Linked DNA regions of Homo sapiens: regions 1, 3, 4, 5, 6 and 7 are each linked to region 2. The links are contacts of gene promoters, found by promoter capture Hi-C in blood cells and fetal thymus (Javierre and others, 2016). All regions are on one chromosome and are shown on one strand. The core of a region is centred on a gene start or on the middle of the fragment in contact, and the rest is flanking DNA. Distances in the headings are between cores, read along the strand shown. Region 1 overlaps LINC02694 (long intergenic non-protein coding RNA 2694). Region 2 holds the start of THBS1 (thrombospondin 1). Region 3 has its middle 170 kb from the start of LINC02694. Region 4 has its middle 130 kb from the start of LINC02694. Region 5 has its middle 180 kb from the start of LINC02694. Region 6 has its middle 110 kb from the start of LINC02694. Region 7 has its middle 31 kb from the start of LINC02694.

Region 1 (2,700 bases), core at 142-2,641, 880 kb before region 2:
GGAAAGCTGAGGCTCAGAGCAAGTGAACATCTAACCCAGGGCCACCAACAAGAGCTCAGGGATTGGAATCTGGGAGAAGATGCTTCCCTTCTCTTCTCCAAGAGTCCTTTTGGGGCTGGCAAGTTGATACAAGCTCCAGCTCATGTCTTCAGACAATGCTGGGTCCAAGGAAATGCATGGATCTCCTGCATTACAAAGTTTGACTCCAAGAGAAGCCCAGAAGTGGCTTCCAGCCCCTCCTACCTAACTGTGCCCCGCCGTTCACCACTTCCTGTCTTCCTGCGACCCAGTGACAGATGTGTCTGTGGGGGCTGCTACTTGGGAAAGTCCACCAGGAGGAGAGCATGCCAATCTCTCCTCTCAGATCCTCTGGGGGTTACTTTCCCCACCCAAACTAGGCCTTGATGTCAAGGCCTAGTTACAGGGATGTCAAACTAGGAGGTTGATGTCGGTGTGGTGTGTAAGATGTTGGGGAGAAGCTGCAGGTGCCTTCTTACCAGCTCTTCCTGAAAACTTGTCTCTCCCTCTCCTTGTTAGTCTGTTTTATAACTCACACTCCAGCCGGGGGGAAGTAAAGGAGCTTATCCCGTTCACAGATCCTGTAACCCATGGTGGTTATTACCTCATAGCTGGTGCAGTGTTCTTTGAGCCTAGCAGTTTGGTTTAGACTCAAGTGTCTATTCTTTGCAGTCTTTCTGGGGTTGGTAGCAGAGAAAGAGAAGAGAACAGGTAATTCGATCACTCAGGTTATTCGTGTGTAAAAGTTGAAGCCCTACCACAAACGTATGAGTGGATGTTATAGTGTAATAACCTGGACATTGCCAAGACAGCTTCCTCAGGGCTTTTGTTTCCTCAAGCCTACCTGAAGGCTCTCTTCTCAGTCACGGGGGATGGAATTGTTTCATCCCTGGCTTGCTCTGGGCCTCAGTTTCCCTATTCCAGGATAGTTTCCCTATTCCCTATTCTGCATCATAAAAAAAAAAATACACTCCTGATAGAAGTCGGTTGATGCTTTTGGCCTGCAGCCTCCTTAAGGTTAATAGTCCACATAATTTCCTCAGGGGCCCTGGCTGGCCTGTTGTGGGTGTACCCATGAAGTATCTTGATTTGCTATGATAGGAGCCACCTTGGCTTCCTGTGGAGATAAGCCCTGCCCCTCGTTCCCACTTTAAGCTTGAAAAGTCCCTTATCCAACTTTGGAATGGGAACTAGAAAGACTAAGCAGTGTCTCTCAGGGGTTCCTTCTGGGGTCACTCAGAAGAGGAGAACCAAGCAGTCTTGGCGGAGAGACACCTGAAGTTGGTCACTCGGCACATTACCAGGGGCTCAGCAATGACCAGCCTGCAACCATCCTGCCTTTCCCCAGGGGTCTGGGCTCCAGCCATGGAGGGTGGACTGGAGACTCCTTTGCCTTTCAACACTGTCTGGCCTGTCTCGGGTCCGGCACGTCTTTTCTCTACTGATTTTGTGGCTGTGGTTAACTTAGCTAACCTTTCAGTGAAATAATGTCTAGTGGCATTCCTTTACATTTTCCATGTGCTGTTTTTTCCATAACTCCATTTTCTTCAGGGCTGAGTTTGGGTCTTCATTTTTCCACCCACAGGCCTAGTTAAGCTTGGTCTTGTGCTCCAACTTACCTGCCCCAGACTTCTTGGATGGACATTGTCAATCTGGTCATATTGAGAGTGAAACTGCCACCTAGTGGTCACTGGAGGTGTGCCTGCCTTTTCATGAGCTCTCTTGCTGCTGGTTACCGGAAACATCAGTTGATGGTTTTCTTCTAAGCTAACTCAGAAGCTGTGATGTGAATCAGACCAAACAATTTATCTGCTTCAAATCCATATTGTAAAGAGGTTTAATATAAAGACATATTTTCAAATCAAAATAAATAATGAAGCAAAAATCAGATAGACATGTACTCCTTTGCCAAACTGGAACACAATTTTTCTTTCTTTGACTAAATTTCAATTCAAATGAAGTCCTACAAAGACAAAACAAATCAACTAACAAACAGCCCAACAAAAACACCTAAACCAAACAGCCCAGCAAAAAGCGGAATGGTCATTTTCATTTATCCAACACAAATCTACTTAGTGCTGGGCTGGTTCTGGTAGGCAACCAAGTGTTTAGTGGATACCCGAGCAGCTCATTCTAATACAACATGGCAACTTAAAATCAGGTGAAGAAATGCAGTGGGAGAAAACAAAGAGGAATTGGTAACTCTGCAGAGCAGTGACATTTGAATAGACTTGTCAAGGAAGACTAGATTTAGTCAGGCAGGAGGGAGAGAGGGCAGGGAGGGAATTCTACCTGACTAAGGAAGAGCATGTGCAAGGCCTAGGGGAATGGAAGAGAAGAATGAGTTCAGGTGTCTGGAAGAGGTTGTCTTAGTAGGTTTCCTGTTGCTGTAACAGAATACTACAGAGTGGGTAATTTATAATGAAGAGAAATTTATTTAGTGTATGGTTTTGGAGGCTGGGAAGTCCAAGAGCATGGTGCTGTCCTCCAGGAAGGGTCATTCCATGGCAGGGAGGCAGAAGGGCAAGAGAGGGAGTGTGAGAAAGAGAGACAGAGACAGAGAGGGAGGGAGGGAGGAAAAGGGGGCCAGACTCCCAAGATCGCTCACTCACTTCTGTGATGACAGCATGAGTCTATTCACAAAGGCAGAGCCCTCAGGACCTCATCACCTCTTACAGGCCC
Region 2 (2,700 bases), core at 78-2,577:
TGGGAGGTGAACCCCAGGGGTTTCCCCCTGCCCGTGCTGAGATCCTTATTTGGTCAAGCTTCTACCTATGCCCTGGCCTCGGAGCGAGCCCGATAGCGCTGGATCACAGCAGAGGGAGCGAGGCGGCTGACGTCCCATCCCGAAGAGATGAATGGAATTCCAGGAAGCTAGAGTCATGCTGGCTTGGGACAGTGGCTTGGAGACCAGACTTCAATGACAGAAGCACTAGGCAGCGGCACTCATGGCAATGTGTGCACCCACAGAAATGTAACCCACACCTCGGGTTCAGGAGCCGAAAAATGAAAAGAACGTTTAGGGAGGAAAAAGGGAAATACAATAATAGGCAGAGAGTAATTTATTACTCTATGGGTCTGCTCTGTAAATAGCTGAAGACTCTGGAGCCAGATGGTTCTGCAAATTCTCCAAACAGGAGTCACGTTAAGAAGCACGAGTGGGCACAAAAACTGTTTTTCAAGACACAATTTCAATTTGGCTTGTGGAAACTGGATACGAGTAAGTTTCCTTAAAATTCGAGTAGAAAGCAGCTGTCCTCCCCGGGCCCCTTGATGAGAATACGCACACCGCCCCCAAGCGGCCGGCCGAGGGAGCGCCGCGGCAGCGGGAGAGGCGTCTCTGTGGGCCCCCTGGCAGCCGCGGCAGGAAAGGGCCCGAAGGCAGCGAAGGCGAACGCGGCGCACCAACCTGCCGGCCCCGCCGACGCCGCGCTCACCTCCCTCCGGGGCGGGCGTGGGGCCAGCTCAGGACAGGCGCTCGGGGGACGCGTGTCCTCACCCCACGGGGACGGTGGAGGAGAGTCAGCGAGGGCCCGAGGGGCAGGTACTTTAACGAATGGCTCTCTTGGTGTCCCCTGCGCCCCGTCGGCCCATTTTTCTTTTTACAAAACGGGCCCAGTCTCTAGTATCCACCTCTCGCCATCAACCAGGCATTCCGGGAGATCAGCTCGCCCGAAAGCCCCTGCGCCACCCCGCGGGCCCTCCTAGGTGGTCTCCCCAGCCCCGTCCCTTTTCGGGATGCTTGCTGATCACCCCGAGCCCGCGTGGCGCAAGAGTACGAGCGCCGAGCCCGTGCGCGCCAAGGCTGCGTGGGCGGGCACCGACTTTTCTGAGAAGTTCTAGTGCTCCCAAGCCCCGACCCCCGCCCCCTTCACTTTCTAGCTGGAAAGTTGCGCGCCAGGCAGCGGGGGGCGGAGAGAGGAGCCCAGACTGGCCCCCACCTCCCGCTTCCTGCCCGGCCGCCGCCCATTGGCCGGAGGAATCCCCAGGAATGCGAGCGCCCCTTTAAAAGCGCGCGGCTCCTCCGCCTTGCCAGCCGCTGCGCCCGAGCTGGCCTGCGAGTTCAGGGCTCCTGTCGCTCTCCAGGAGCAACCTCTACTCCGGACGCACAGGCATTCCCCGCGCCCCTCCAGCCCTCGCCGCCCTCGCCACCGCTCCCGGCCGCCGCGCTCCGGTACACACAGGTAAGTCGCCCCCGGCGGCCGCCGAGGACCAAAGCTGCCCGGGACATCCACCTGGAGCGCTGAGGCTTCAGTCCCTCTGGTGGACCCCGGAACCTACACTCTCCCCGCTCGCCTACCCCAGCCCGCTCCTCTCAGCCGCTGGAGGACTCTTCAGGGCAAGGCTCCAGAGCCATCCTCTCCAGCCTTGAGGTTCACAAACCAACTCATCAGGACACCCCAAGATTTCCTTACTCTCTGAAGTCCTCCTTAAGCCTTTGTATCAGCACTCCAGGGAAGAGTCTGTACTTCCCCTGCCCTCCCTGCAACCCCAAACTACAGTTCCTGATCTTGCTCACCTTCGACTTCCCAAAAGCCCCCAAATTGTTGGTCTTGCGCCCCCCACACTTTAAAACCAGCATCTCTTTCCTCCACCTCTCTCTCTCTCTCTCTCTCTCTCTCTCATGCTCTCTGGAAAGTAATCCTGTTGTCCTTCATTTCAGCAAACGCGGGGTCAAAGAGGGATGGTCCCGGCCCTGTCCCCATGCCCAGCCCCGTTTCTGCGCACCGTCCCTCCCTGCCTAGCTGATCTCTGACCCTCGGCTCTTGTGCTTCCTGCTACAGGATCCCTGCTGGGCACCAACAGCTCCACCATGGGGCTGGCCTGGGGACTAGGCGTCCTGTTCCTGATGCATGTGTGTGGCACCAACCGCATTCCAGGTGAGTTTGTGTGGCACCTTTAGGGGAAGGAGGGACAAGGAAGAGGTGCTGGCTATCCCAGGTGTGCCCCCTCACGTGCTGTCCTCTCCCTCTTGAGCCTGACTGGACATCAGGACGCAGCTTCACTCTGATCCTGGTATTTATTCACCTCTTTCAGTGGTTGCCAGGAGTTTTCACCCCAACCCTTTGTCTCCACCCCTAAGGACTCAGCCCCCTACTGCTGGTCCCAGCCTAGAAAGCTCACTTTGTGTTCTCTCCTGTCTAACAGAGTCTGGCGGAGACAACAGCGTGTTTGACATCTTTGAACTCACCGGGGCCGCCCGCAAGGGGTCTGGGCGCCGACTGGTGAAGGGCCCCGACCCTTCCAGCCCAGCTTTCCGCATCGAGGATGCCAACCTGATCCCCCCTGTGCCTGATGACAAGTTCCAAGACCTGGTGGATGCTGTGCGGGCAGAAAAGGGTTTCCTCCTTCTGGCATCCCTGAGGCAGATGAAGAAGACCCGGGGCACGCTGCTGGCCCTGGAGCG
Region 3 (2,700 bases), core at 59-2,558, 720 kb before region 2:
CCCATTTCCTTCAGGGGTCATAGAAAATGAAGCTTGCTTCACCTCAGGGGCTCATGAACATTTTTCCCGTTGTTTCTGGATCATCTGGGTTGATTGTGCAAGACAGTTACTTTCCTGTTATGCAGTCACCCAGAAACAGAAGCAGAAGCGGCACACACTCTGTGATCTTTCCCACTTCCTTTCAGCCAATGCTATATTGAACTGTTCCTGAAATCACTCCAAACAACTGCCAATGGTGTTTGCATCTCTTCCTATCCCAAGTTCCCACAATCCCCAGCAGGGGTGTTGATGGTGCCCACAGCCTTTCCTCTTCACCTTGGTAATATCAGGTGAGTAAAACTGGCCCTCTATGCCCATTGTCTCCACCACACCAGCCATTCCTGAGATGTGGAATTCTATAGAAAGCATGTGGGTCACCAGCTGGTTTTAATTAATTGAAAACAATTCTGACTACCTGTTCTGTTCTGGGAATTGTGCTGGGTGTTTGACCCAATATGGAGAGGGGAGGCCCTTCCTGGCAAGAAAGCTGTTCATTTATTCAATTCTTTATTCATTTCACAGTTATCAGCTGCTTACCACATGCCAGATGGTGTTCTAGCTGCTGAGGAATACAGCAGTAAACAAAACCCAAAAAGTTGATTTTCTCATAGAGCTTACATTCTAGTGTGGGAAGAGAAATGATAAACAATAAATATAAATGAGTAAGATATATCAGGTTATGGTGGTCTTTCTGATGTGTCAATTTGAACAGACTATAGCCTTTAATTATCCAATCCAACACAAATCTAGATGTTGCTGTGAAGGTATTTTATAGATGTAATTTAAGTCCATGATCACTTGATTTTAAGAGAGATTATCCTGGAGAATCTGAGTGAGTCTGATTCAGTCAGCTTGAAAGGCCTTAAAAGCAGGACTGAGGCTCCTCTTAGAGGAGAAATTCATGTGTAAGACAACAGATTCAGCCCATGCCCAGGAGTTCCAGCCTGCCCTTATGGTTGGCCTGACCTATGGATTTTGGACTTATTTATGCAGCTGCCACAATTGCCTAAGCCAATCTCTTGCAGCAAACTTCATGTCATCCTTTATTGGTTCTGGTTCTCTGGTTTAACCCCAACTGACTCAGTGCTATGAAGAAAAATAAAGCAGGAAAGGGGATAAACCTGGTTATGGAGTAGACATAAAGACAAAAAATTAAAGCACAATTCACTCTTGCTATCATGCCTTTATGGGTACAGTGGAAGTAGAAATTAATCTACTAGTATCACAAATTTCCTTTCTTCAAAGCAAAGATCCTAAAGCTCAAATCCTGTGGGATATTAAACAGGGAACTTTTTTTTCTGAGCCCTTTTCAATTTCTAATTTCTAAAATAGGAATGCCACCTTTATATGATTAAAATGTAAGTGAGATAAGACTATTATATATAAATTATCTAGCACCCTTCTTGGAACATAATAAACTATCTTCTATTTTTTATTACCTTCTTACTAATACCTGTGAACATGTCTGCTATATGAATATCATGGTAATTCAGCATTGTCTTTACATCATACGTATTCCCGTGTATCTGTGGCCAATTCATACCCAAGGCAGACAGATAGTTAAGCTCCTCAGTGCATGCATTTACTGGTAGAACGCAGGTTGATGAGCCTGGGAAGGTAATGAACTGGGAATTACATATGGATGAAGAAGGATTAGGCTTATCTATAAAAACCAGTCTACTCCATTATTCCCTATCATATTGAAACTTTTCTCAACTTTCTCTTAATTCTGTAGAGAAATATCTGGTACATCAAAATTTCTATTTAAATGTCTTCAAAGTAACCAAATTGATATATCAGTGAACAAGCACTCTTCCATTGCAAGGCTCCAGCTAAGATCTCATTGTCAAAGAACTTCAGACAGTTGGTAGGGAGAGATGAGATGGGGAGGAATGCTCTGTTATGTGAAATATTTCAGAACTGGAGTTTCTGGGCAAAGGAAATAACTGTCATTTTGGTACACGTTGGCATTGAGAAAATGCATAGAAGAGTAATTATCTGCTTGAAACACTCCACATGACTATGTACACCCTTCCTTTTTCTGATTAACTAGACTGGAAAACATATTTCCAGGGCTGTTTTGGCTTTGAGTAAGATGGTACAGTATTCATCCTTGTAGTTTATTTGGAATAGGAAGAACATCTAGCTTGTGGGGGTACATAAGGTGGTGTCTCCCAAGAGTCTCTTAAATAAAAAGAGGCACTCCAAGTCTGTAGTTCCTGGTTCTAGTTTAGCATTTTTGCTGAACAGCAAAGGATTACATTCCCACATCTTCTTGAAATAAAGGCTAGAATGAATCTTCAGTGATTCATTCACTCAAAAGCCATTCTTTTTCATTGGCTACTATGGGCTAACCATAGATCTCATGATAGGGCCACATCTGAACAACTAAGGCAAGTTCCTGTCTTTGTGGTTACTTTGCTAGTGGGAAGTTTAGATGGAATAAATAACATTTATAGAACACTTTCTATGTGCAAGCTCTCTGTCTAGGTAATTAAATGTGGAGCAGTCCAGCAATGGGTAACCTGTGTCCCTGCACATGGGAGGAAGCTTGGAATGGGGACCACGGGCACACAGGAAAATACTGGACACTGTAGTGCAGCTGGTGATGGTGGTAGAGGGCTGAAAGATGCAACTTGAGTCCCAGCCAGGGACTGTGGT
Region 4 (2,700 bases), core at 47-2,546, 750 kb before region 2:
GTTGGGTATCTAGTGTGTGGTGCTGAAACAAAATTTTACCCTGTGCACGAATCTCGCTTCTCCATCTTATTGAAAGATGAAAGCATAAGATGGGACATGAGGCAGAAGACAGGGTTTTGGTATCCAGTTCTGGGGCTTGAGGACATTTTAAGCCTCAATTTTATGTATAAAATGGCAACAAAGACTTCTATTTGTCACCATCATTGAAAATAATCAGATGAGATAATGAATTAAAAGTGCTTTGTACATCAAAAAGCCCTGATTAAACAAACACTACTTCTAAACAACTTGATGAATACAACTCCTACTAATATAGACAGGCTAGAAGCAAACTTTAAGCATAGATCTAAATTTTCAAGGAATGGAAAGTGGCTCAATCTTAAGTATCTTTTCACATGACTTGCTCTCTGTTTGGACATTTCCGAGAACTGAAAGTTACCATGTTGCTAGAAACTCATACAGTCATTGGAGGTGTTCTTGGTGCTGAGTGATAGAGCCACTGGGGGTGTTATTTCCCAACAGAATTTCCATTGTCTGCTGAATTTGTTTTTGTTGGCTTGACTCTTCTATTGAAATCTCCCTGATATCCTGTTATTAGGAAACTTGGGGATTATTTTCCCTTCTGTAAAATGGGGATAATATCCCCTAGGGTTTTTGGAAGATTTACGATGAGATATTCTCTGTAAAGTACTTACGATAAAACGTTGTCCACAATATGTATATAATAAATGTTAACTATTACTATTATTGCTGTTATTACTTTGATTACAATTATTGGGTGAATGACAAATTGTAATGGTCACTTTTCTCCCTTTGACCAGTCATTGACTAAATTAAGCTTCAAGTGCTTTTGGAAGGAAGAATATGTGAGATATCTAAGAAAAGTTGATAAAATGTTATCTTCTTTGATAATAGAATGACCAATCGTTGACTTTTTTTTTTTTCCTTCTTTTGAATGACAGAGAAATGCCAGCTCCCTGTAAACATGAGAAAGCCCAGATGAAATAAATAAGGTGCTTCACATTCTGCCTCTCAGCCACATGCTCTGGGCAAGAGATTCTAATTCTTCAGAATAGCCACTTCCCAAGTTCAAATGGGGCCATCCTTCTTCTCTGGCACTGGCAGTGAGTGCTGGGGCAGTCTGTATCATGTTATGGCAAATTACCTTGAGGTCACAAGCCAATTTTTTGTTCCTATAGAAACATTGACTGTGAGAAGATAATGGCCAATGTGTTTTAAGCACTTTGTATTTGCAAGGGACTGCTCTAAGTACTTGATAAACATCAACTTCTTTAATCCTCACAACTCTATGAGGTAGGGATAATTAGCATCATTTTCCAGGTAAGGAAACTGAGGCCCAAAGATGTTAAGTCATCCAGACAGTAAATGGTTGTGTCAGGATTAATGCACAAGCACCTTCATTCTTGACCATTACCCTCTGAAAAAAGGGCTAAGGTGGAGAGTGTGGCTCTGGGGCAGGGCAACTCTAAACAGGAAACATGCTCCTTCACAAATGTGCTGGATTCTACCTCTTTCAGTTAAAGATAAAAGGAACCTTTACGTGTGAACTCAGTCTTCTCTCCAGGGTCTTTAGCTGACAGAGTGCCATCATTTTGCATACAGATATAACTCTTATTGTCTGTGGCTTCCATCTTTTACTTCAGACTATATGTCTGGGTTGAGTGGTTCAAATAATGGCAGATTATAAAGTGCTTTCATTTATTCCAACTCTGTGAAATAAGAATTTCATAGTGAGAAGCTTCCCAGAGACAGAGAGAGAAGAAACTTGTGTATGTCACAGAGCTAGTGACATAACTGGGGTTTGAACCCCTATTTCAAACTCCTATCTCTACACCATAAGAAACAATCCCTCGTCAATCTGGGGGTTGTGGGTGGTGTCACCAGATTATAAGGAAAAGCTGCCTGTCAGGTCAAGAGTAGTGTTTACATTGGTGAAACCCCGTCTCTACTAAGAATACAAAAATTAGCTGGGTGTGGTGGCACGCACCTGTAGTCCCAGCTACTTGGGAGGTTGAGGCAGAAGAATTGTTTGAACCCAGGAGGCAGAGGTTGCAGTGAGCTGAGATTGCACCAGTGCACTCCAATCTGAGTGACAGAGTGAGACTCCGTCTCAAAAAAAAAAAAAAAAAGTTTCATCTAGTAGCTACAATGGTTCCCAGATTGCATATTACTAAGTGATAATTCGAATGAATGAATGAATTTTATTCTAATAGTAATTTGAATTTAACTGTGAAATAATAAAGGTGCATTTCAAAATTTAAAAAAATCAGGCTCTGAAACCTGCCCCAGGTGCCTCTATGTGGAAGGACCCTTGCTCTGCTCATCACATTCCAGTTTCCTTGACCAGGTGCCTTCTAAGGGGTGAAAGTGGAGGAGAAAGGGGGGAGCCTCATTTTGCTGGGATTCTGACACCCTTCACTGAGCCCCCACAACTATCACCCACCCCAGCCCAGCTGGCACTACACCTACCTTGCTCAGCCCCACCTAATGGCTTTAGCACTGAAGTGGTCAGGAAATAGACGTGGCTAGTATTAAAGTCTAAACAACAGCTTTACCGGAGTAAATTGATGAGAACTACCATCACACATGTTCCTCTGTATAATTGCCCATCCAAAGCAGCCAGGCAGCCTTTTTCCATTTGGTGTCATTCTTCCTGAGCACCCTCCCTCCTGCTCTGCC
Region 5 (2,700 bases), core at 38-2,537, 700 kb before region 2:
TGAATTACAGGCTAGCAGGAAAGGTCTGCGTGTGCCTCATCCTGGAGGCTTATTTGAAAACTGGAGAAAAAGATGTCTTCTCTAGTATCCATGCTGGGTTTCAAGGTGGGCTGGAATCTTCTCGTGAGAGTGCAGGGAAGTGAGAATGGAGAGAAAGGGGGTGTGCGTTGCCTCTTGGCTTGTTTTTCTAAGCACAAAATGAAACTTTTTTCCAGGCAACTTTTTCTTTTCTTTTTTTTTTTTTTTTTACAAAAATAATAATTTGAGACTCTTTCCCAGGGCAAAAATACACTGTGCAGTCTTTGTGCCCACAGCACCTGTAGAAGGGATTGAATTGAAGTTTTGTTCAAGGTGCTGAAAGTTTATGGTCCATTTAGCTGTGAAGCAGAGTTTAATGTTGGCAAACTTTTGTGTTTGTTTTAGTTTCTGAAAGTTGCTAACCATTTTCCCTTTCTTGGGGAGGAGAGCAGGCCTGGCAGGAAAGGCAGGGCCATCACTGGGGCAGGGTGGGCGGGGTGGGTAGTGTTTAGGTACAGAATCTTAATGGGCCAGTAGATATGTCTGCCTGATGCCTTTAGCACCACAGCCTGTTAGCCTGACCTGCTGGCACATGGAGTTAAGGCCGCAGAGGCTGAGGAAAGTGGGTGTTTTCGGAGCCCCTTCCTTCAGCAGTTTCATCCAGTGTGGATGCTGATGGACAGCTACAATCCCCAGAGCCAAGTGCACATTCCTGCAAAAGATAAACATTTGTCTATTTGCTCAACTCTGCTCTCACTTTGTTACCATCTAAGCCAGATCTATCATGCCCTCGATGCATTTGGCAGGAGGGAAAACAGATGGTCATAGACCTGGCTAAACAGTTCCTATTTCTGCAGCCCTGGCACTAGTAATTCTGGGTCTACTTGCAATTTTGTGTAAGACGCTAGATAAGAGGCCTAAAGCCCATCACCTGCCCTGGTCTATGCACTAGCAATAAGCAGATGTTACCTTGAGTCTGGAGTAACAACCAGACTCATTTGGCAATTCTGGAGGCAAATTGCTTGTCAGAAACACAAAAACAAATATTTCATAAACATAATAATCATGTGTCAAGGGTAAGTCTCATGTTCCTACCTCATTTCTTTGTCCTTTCCCCTAATTTCCATTTTCTCCAAGGTAATTCAGGACCCTGCTGCCTCTTGCCTAAATTAGGGCAAGAACTTTCTATCTCATCTCCTTGCCTCTAGACTCTCCCCACTCCTCCCTACTCCTTGCAAGTGCACCTCATTCCTGGCTACCATAGGCACAATCTTCTCTCTCCTTAGTGGGAAGAGATCACATCTGATTCAGCATGAGTACCTCAGCACTCAGCATGGTTACATCAGCACCCTGGTACATAGATGCTCAAATGATAGTTGTTATAAAAATGAATGCATAAATCAAGTGCTATAGTGTTGGGTTGGTACACATAGAATGTCTCTGTAAGTTCATTTTTAACTTCTCTATTTAAAGGAGGGATCATGGTTCAGAGGAAAGAGCACTAAAGTACGAGTCAGAAGACTTGGCTTTGCATGATAGCTGTGTCACCATATGCTAGCTGTCATGCTAAGTGCTTTGAATTCACTATCTCATCTCTTACAAATAACCTCTGAGATATATATATAATCTTCATATATGATATATATCATAGGTTACATGATATATGTATCATGTATCATATACATGAATAATACATATATATCATGTATCATGATATAATACATGAATTATGTATATATCATGTATCATAATATATGATATATATATATATATGTTATTCTTACTCAGTTTTAAGAGGAGTTAACTGAGACATAGCAGTTTTAGCAGACTTGCCTAAGGCACACAATTTAAGATTCTCAGGGACTCTTTGAGTTTCAAGCCCATTTGTTTAACTACTCTGCTAAACTGCCATGCAACCCTGGCCAAATTAGTAAGTCTTCAGACTCAGCCTCCTCCTCTGTAAAATGAGCAGCCTGAACTCTGCCGATTCTCTTTAAATCCTATACAGCTATTCTGTGAGTCTGCATTTCTGATTCCAAACATCCACAGAAACGTACTGTGAAACTCCAGTGAATTGTGACTTGTGTTATGAGTTGAGGGCAGGTCAGAGAACAGTAGCATTCCATTGGGAACTGGCACACATTTGCAGCCAACAGATGAAATCTACACTCCTGGCACAGAGCCAACCCTGCCCTCCATCCTAAAGCACACTTGCCTGGTGAGTCCATTTGGTCCTTTCCTGAATCCTGAACTGTCACATCTCCCTCATTGGGAAGGATAGTATGCAGGCCCGACTCCTTCATAGAGCATGGGTTGTTCATCTGTGAATGTAATTTGAGGAAAGTAAAGGCCCACCTGCCTGAGATGGCTGGAGGGCATTGTATTGTAGCAATGGTAGACCACATGTTATTAACTAGGGTTCTGATGACATCTTCCAGCTACACTCACTTGAGTCTCCTGTGACTACCACTCTTTCTCAGTTGTCATCTCTGTCTTTACTTTCTTTGTTTACACTTTAAATGTTGGATATTCCTAGGGCATAGTTCTCAGTTTTCTCTCACCCAGAGTAGCTTCATCCTTTCTCATAACCAGATCTTACTTTCTCTTAAAATCGCTATTTAAATTTCCTGCTAATTTTGAGATATGTCCATATCTCCACCACAGCACCCTTAGAACTTTAGA
Region 6 (2,700 bases), core at 160-2,659, 770 kb before region 2:
CATGAGTCTGGATGACAATTTCAGAGGAGTCAGTGTAGATTAAAAGAAAGGAGGTCTAGGGGCTGGGCCCTGAGGAAAATCCACCATTTGAGGAGGGAGATAAAAGACTAACTCTGAGAAGTATTGGCCAGTGGGGCAGGAATACAACCAAGAGAATGGTGTGAGGCCCTGGAAAACCAGTAAAGAAAATGCTTCAAGGAGCACATGGACATGTGACCAACTATGTTAAGTGTTGCTGAGAGAGTAAGAAAGATGAGATTTAAGAACTGACTGCTATTTTTAGCAATGAGTGGGTCATTAGTGAAATTAATAAGAGCACTTTAGATGGAGTCGTGGGGGTGACTGGAGTTGATTAAAAAAATGATGGAACAAGAAAAGTGGTAGCGATAGAGTGTGAATATACACAATTCTTTTGAGGATGTTTGCCTTTAGAGGAAAGTAAAGAAAAAGAGCAGTAGCTAGAAAGTAGTAGAATAAAAAGAGTTTTTTTAAAAAAAAAATTGAAAGCAATAAATGCAAGCATAATTGTCTGCAGATGGGAAAGATCCAGTAGTGAGGAAATAATCGACGATGAAACAGAAATGCTGCTCTCGAATAGGTGAGAAGAAATGGATAAATGTGTGCGGTCATGAAAATGTCAATTAACTCTGAGTGGATTCTAAATAGAATCTTCCATCTTATACCAGAGAACTGTTCCCTGCTTGAGGAAATCAATTTGCTCTTTTTAGCATTATTATGAATTAATAGTCAACTCATGATTTAAAACCATTGGCAGGTCTGTTGTATTTCGTCAGTCAGCTTGCTCCTCTATTCTTTACAACCATTTCACTCTGTCCCACTTGCCTTCAATCTCTGACTGGTTCTACTGACCAAGGTCAACAGATGACCTACTTCAGAAAGAGAAACAATCAGAAGTGAACTCCACGAAATTTCTGTGACTAAATCTACAAACCAGACCTTAATCTACAAGCCTATTTTCTTGTTGCTGGAAACTACAAGCTCCTTTTTTTCTATTACATTGGGTAAGTTCTTCCTCTTTCTCTCCAAGGTGAATGCCCCCATCTGTCTCCAGTCATTGTCACCTTCCTCAGTCATTGTCCTATGAATTGTGTCCTCTCTTTCTTGTATTTATAACATGTCTTCTTCTACTGACCCCTTTTCATCAGAGTCTAGACACACTCAGGCCTCTCCCAGCTTGTTTCTCGTTGGCTGGATAAAGACTGGTCTTTTTTATCCTACTTAAATGAGGTCTTTTTTTCTACCTTGGGGGTCTTGATCTCTATTTTTATCTCAGATCAGGGCAGACTAGTAGTGACTTTTGGATATATCTAACACATACCTTTGCCTTTAGGCAGTGCTCTATCTGGACTAGTTGAAATTAAAGATCTCTAAATTGTACGTAGTATAGGAAGATATTTTTTAATGTCCTCCACCATGGGAGATCCATTTCAGTGTATACTTGGTGCAAAAGTAGATTTCCTAATATTTGATCTTAATTCTTCAGTTCAGTTTGGATTCAAGCGCAGCTTTTCTTGGTTCCAGGCAAAATGGGTAATGGTTGGCTTCTTTTCTCTGTCGAAAGACTCTTCTAAGATGAGAACAATTCACAAATCAACTTTAGCCTTCTTGAGGATAAAGTTTAAAAAGTGCCTGTTGCAATAAGCCCCCTTTCCTAAGATGAGTTTTCTATGGAGGAGTCAAGCTGTGCAAGATTAAAAATGCATGATGCTTAGGGAATTTTGAAGTCTTCTTTCCATTTAAAAAATGTATATAAAAAACAACTTCAATCTAAGTCATGTTTCAACTATGTCCTGAAAGACTGAGAAGTGTTGTTTTCATGGAAAATTACTTATTACAGAAAAGATTTTTGTAGCTATATTATAATTTGTGGTAGGCAGAGATGTTTCCCAAGGGCCCTTTGATTTAAGACTGCAATAATGGATGAAACTCTGATATCTGAGATCACATTCTCTAGAGTGTGAGCTTCATTTCCAAGGTACATAGACTTCCTCTAATTCTGCTGCCAGAACTATTTCAATGGATGTTTTGGAGTTCTAACTGTAGAGGAGTGGGGCAGGAAAGACAGAGGCATGCAGGGGAGTGGTGGGGAATGAGTTAAAGCCATGTCTGTAACTGTCCTTTTCTGTTATCTGACCCCCTGTTTTTGTTTAATTCAATCAACTTCAACAGGCCCCAGACACTCTGAACATAAGGTAGAGCCTAAACAAAACATTTTCTATGCGCAGGAAGCTACCAAAATAGCTTCTGCAAGGTCTATAAAGGGCATTTAGTAAAACACAAAGTAAACAGGCACATAATGAAAGGCTGATGGTGGCTATGCTGATGAAAATGACAGAAAGAAAGAAGTAAGTTTCTCCTGGTCGAAATTCAGCTTCAAATATTGGACTCCTTATGGATGAAGCAGCCAGTAGCTGATGGAAAGGACAGAAAGAAAGGAATAAGTTCTTCCTAGTCAAGATTCAGCTTCAAAAAATGGTCTTATGTACAAAGCAGCCAGTACCATTCCGTTGGAGCTGGCTTGTCACTTAACCTTTCTAGGCTTCAGCTTTTCAATAAAAGGAGGAGATTAGACCAATGCACCTTTCAACACTAATTCTCTAGGATTCTCATGTGCAGGTGAACCCTACATAGAGGTGATGATGGAAATAAAAATATATAGAATTGATCCATTAGCGGGTG
Region 7 (2,700 bases), core at 92-2,591, 850 kb before region 2:
TGTCTGGGGCAGTCTTATTGTCATTATACTTTATTTCATTAATGAATCCTCCAAACAGCAAATAACTTGCCCCTTAAATTGTATCTACATTGACTGGGAGACCCAATAGGTATGTATCTAAAGATTAAACACACATTTGGATTTTAGGGTTTAAAAAATGAACTAGAAATGATCCATGCTCTCTATAAGCTTTGGGTTAGTTAGGGAGTTGACTCAGATTCATGACCGCAGAAGGTGGCATGTCACACACGGTGCTGAAAGGTACTACTTAATGCTGCTCAATGAAGCTATGGCAGCTAAGGGACAGGAACCTTTCAATTACACTGCAGTGATTGGGGAAGTTTCTATGGAAGAGCCATTTGAGATAAATTTGATTTAGATTACCAAAGAGAATAGGAAAGGAAACTCCAGGGCAGAAAGAATGCTAGGCATAAAGGTGCAGAGGCCAGAATGCTCTAGCACATCTTGGGAAGTGTGATTTGACTAGTTTGCCGAGGAGGATGTGCTTTGGGAAGTAGTGAGATAGAGGTTTAGAAGGAGATAAAAGGGAATTTTTTTATTTTTGAGACACAGGAACAGTGACAGGCATATACTGTCCCTTCTTTTGTAGGGTGGGGCTAGATCGGAAGAGCCCCTGGAGATTTGTCCCTTTTGTTTGCTCTTCTTTCTTACTGCATGAAGGAAAAATGAATCTAAGGCTTCGAGAACCTTGGAATTCACTATATTTAACCATAGAAGACTTCCCTGTACCTATGGGGAAGAGAAAACTTCAGGCTGCACAAATAGAGCACTCTCTCATGCTCGTGATAATGTATGTTGAGAACTTTCTTTGGAAAAGTCTTGGACGGAGGTGGTATTGGAGCTGGGTATCCCATATGCAGTTGTCCTCACACAGCGTGCTCTTGATTACCAGCTTTGTCCACAATGATGCCATGCATACATGTTGGCATGGACATACAGAATGGGTTTTCAGCACTGCTGGCTTACAATTGGCTGCCAGTCAAATTCACAATCCACCTCGTGCACAAGCAGCTTCACAAATCTCAGACAGAACAGCTTTGTACATACTGCATCACCTTGAAAGAGAAATGTACCATTTATGGTCTGTCTTGGCTTAAGTTCTTGGCAGTTTAGGGCCGTTTTCATTGGAGACAGGTAACATGCGGCTGTGGCCGTTAGAAGAAGTCTGCTTTTCCATTCTGATCCATGAAGGATGCCACGGAACACTGTGGAATTGGATATGACCTCTTTAAGTGCATGACTATGTGATTATTTCCTTCAACTTGGAGGCCTTTTGTTTATTAAAGAAACTTGCCTACCCCTTAACACAGGAAAATTCTTAATTTACAAAATTGCCCTTGGAAAACTCGTGCTTTCTGCAAAGGATAAGGAAATGAGCTGTTTTCTCCTAGTTTCTGTCTTTGATTGCTTTATGATGTTGGCAGTGATGAGCAGAGGGCCACATGAGTTATTTTCTCCACAAGGAAAGGTCTCTGTGAGGCATACAGATCCTTGGGTGGGGTTTCCAGACATACTACCTGGGTTTCCTTCAAAGCAAAACTCGGGCATCCAGGGAGGTCAGTCTCCTTACCCCCGCACAAACCACAAATACTTCCCTACCTGTATATGTAATTTTTTTCTGATGAAAATACTCTCAGCCACATTTCACCTTTCATGCTCCAAATCCCATATTATCCCCATTATGAAGCACCCACTGGTTATTTCAGCCCACGTGGATGGCCTTCGCACTGGGATCCTACGGCCTTACACTCACTCCCCTAAAATGGTTTTATTCCTATTGGGTTATTTCCTTGACCAGGTAGCAAACCTTTTAGGCACAGGTTCTTGACAGATTGAATTGACAACAATTGAGAAGGAAGGCGACAAATCGTAGCTTTGTAAGAGCACAGCAATAGCATTTACACACTTGTTTTATTTCTAGGAAGAAACATAAGTAGAGAAGGCTTTGCAAAAACTCTTGCCATTAGGTGAACGTCATCAAATGGTTATTAGAAGAGGGTGGCCTACAGCACTGTATTCTGGCTTTGGAAGTGGGTGATTTGCCTTTCCCCAACACCTCTCTTAGAAAAAACAAACATGGAGTGGCTGAAGCCACAGTTGGCTGAGGCTAAGTTTCTGAGGGATTGACTGGTGAGGAGATGGGGCCAGCCTTGCACAAGGTGGGTCTTAGAACTGGGCCAGAGCCAGGGTGGGAGTGGAGGAGGTTGCTTTCATGTAATTTTCTTCGCCTGTAAGTCTGGAATTCTGCAAATTTTCATAGCCAGTTTTGAGGTCTTTTTACTTTAAGTCAGATCAAAGGATAAAGGAACTTAGGTTAGAGTCAATTTACTGATGAACTAATTTAAGTTGCAGAGGCACAGATACTGTGTATCTCTGTCTTTCCTCCCCACCATCCCTATAAAGTCCTTTTAGTCATATATGTATAAGGAAACGCATTTAAGGAGGGAAAACACCTGGAGATGCACATCTAATCAAGCTTCCCATATCCCGCTCTTCCTCTTTTATCTCTCATATACATAGTCTAATTTGTATCTGCCTATTTTTCTTTCTTTAAGCCCAAAATGTAGGGCTACCAGGGCATTAGAAGTTATCATTTCCTTCAGGAACTCAAAAATCACCTTATTAAAGGGGTCTTCCTGGCCATAAAAAATTGCGTTACCCGCTTTCCAACCCATACCT

The links. Contacts are between HindIII fragments. The CHiCAGO score rates a contact against its expected background, and 5 or more counts as called.
Region 1: a contact is called between a fragment that was not itself captured here and the fragment with the promoter of THBS1 in region 2, in 3 of 17 cell types (megakaryocytes, endothelial precursors and total CD8 T cells). The highest score is 9.2, in megakaryocytes.
Region 3: a contact is called between a fragment that was not itself captured here and the fragment with the promoter of THBS1 in region 2, in 1 of 17 cell types (M1 macrophages). The highest score is 5.5, in M1 macrophages.
Region 4: a fragment that was not itself captured here is called in contact with the fragment with the promoter of THBS1 in region 2 in 6 of 17 cell types (endothelial precursors, neutrophils, erythroblasts and 3 more); the score reaches 11.3 in endothelial precursors.
Region 5: a contact is called between a fragment that was not itself captured here and the fragment with the promoter of THBS1 in region 2, in 1 of 17 cell types (endothelial precursors). The highest score is 5.5, in endothelial precursors.
Region 6: a fragment that was not itself captured here is called in contact with the fragment with the promoter of THBS1 in region 2 in 7 of 17 cell types (M2 macrophages, erythroblasts, naive CD8 T cells and 4 more); the score reaches 11.3 in M2 macrophages.
Region 7: a contact is called between a fragment that was not itself captured here and the fragment with the promoter of THBS1 in region 2, in 2 of 17 cell types (erythroblasts and M1 macrophages). The highest score is 5.1, in erythroblasts.

What each region holds. Positions count from the first base shown.
Region 1 is chr15:38,698,141-38,700,840 of GRCh38, forward strand. LINC02694 (long intergenic non-protein coding RNA 2694) reads left to right here. Exons shown (of 2, transcript NR_160786.1): 2 at 1-1,898. Among named protein-coding and RNA genes, the nearest start is that of LINC02694, 2.9 kb to the left of the region's middle. The HindIII fragment of the contact is 441 bases long and covers 1,172-1,612 here.
Region 2 is chr15:39,579,752-39,582,451 of GRCh38, forward strand. It overlaps THBS1 (thrombospondin 1), which reads left to right and starts at 1,328. Exons shown (of 22, transcript NM_003246.4): 1 at 1,328-1,477; 2 at 2,078-2,173; 3 at 2,442-2,700. The coding sequence starts at 2,107. LOC124903470 reads left to right here and starts at 56. Exons shown (of 1, transcript XM_047433405.1): 1 at 56-1,243. The coding sequence starts at 567. The coding sequence ends at 1,001. RefSeq lists an enhancer at 419-1,156 and silencers at 579-808, 819-868. The HindIII fragment of the contact is 3,699 bases long and covers 57-2,700 here.
Region 3 is chr15:38,860,330-38,863,029 of GRCh38, forward strand. No RefSeq gene overlaps it. Among named protein-coding and RNA genes, the nearest start is that of LINC02694, 170 kb to the left of the region's middle. The HindIII fragment of the contact is 2,557 bases long and covers 31-2,587 here.
Region 4 is chr15:38,828,830-38,831,529 of GRCh38, forward strand. No RefSeq gene overlaps it. Among named protein-coding and RNA genes, the nearest start is that of LINC02694, 130 kb to the left of the region's middle. The HindIII fragment of the contact is 921 bases long and covers 837-1,757 here.
Region 5 is chr15:38,876,910-38,879,609 of GRCh38, forward strand. It overlaps a transcript of LOC105370777 not described here. Among named protein-coding and RNA genes, the nearest start is that of LINC02694, 180 kb to the left of the region's middle. The HindIII fragment of the contact is 4,354 bases long and covers 1-2,700 here.
Region 6 is chr15:38,806,125-38,808,824 of GRCh38, forward strand. No RefSeq gene overlaps it. Among named protein-coding and RNA genes, the nearest start is that of LINC02694, 110 kb to the left of the region's middle. The HindIII fragment of the contact is 4,397 bases long and covers 1-2,700 here.
Region 7 is chr15:38,726,484-38,729,183 of GRCh38, forward strand. No RefSeq gene overlaps it. Among named protein-coding and RNA genes, the nearest start is that of LINC02694, 31 kb to the left of the region's middle. The HindIII fragment of the contact is 2,308 bases long and covers 188-2,495 here.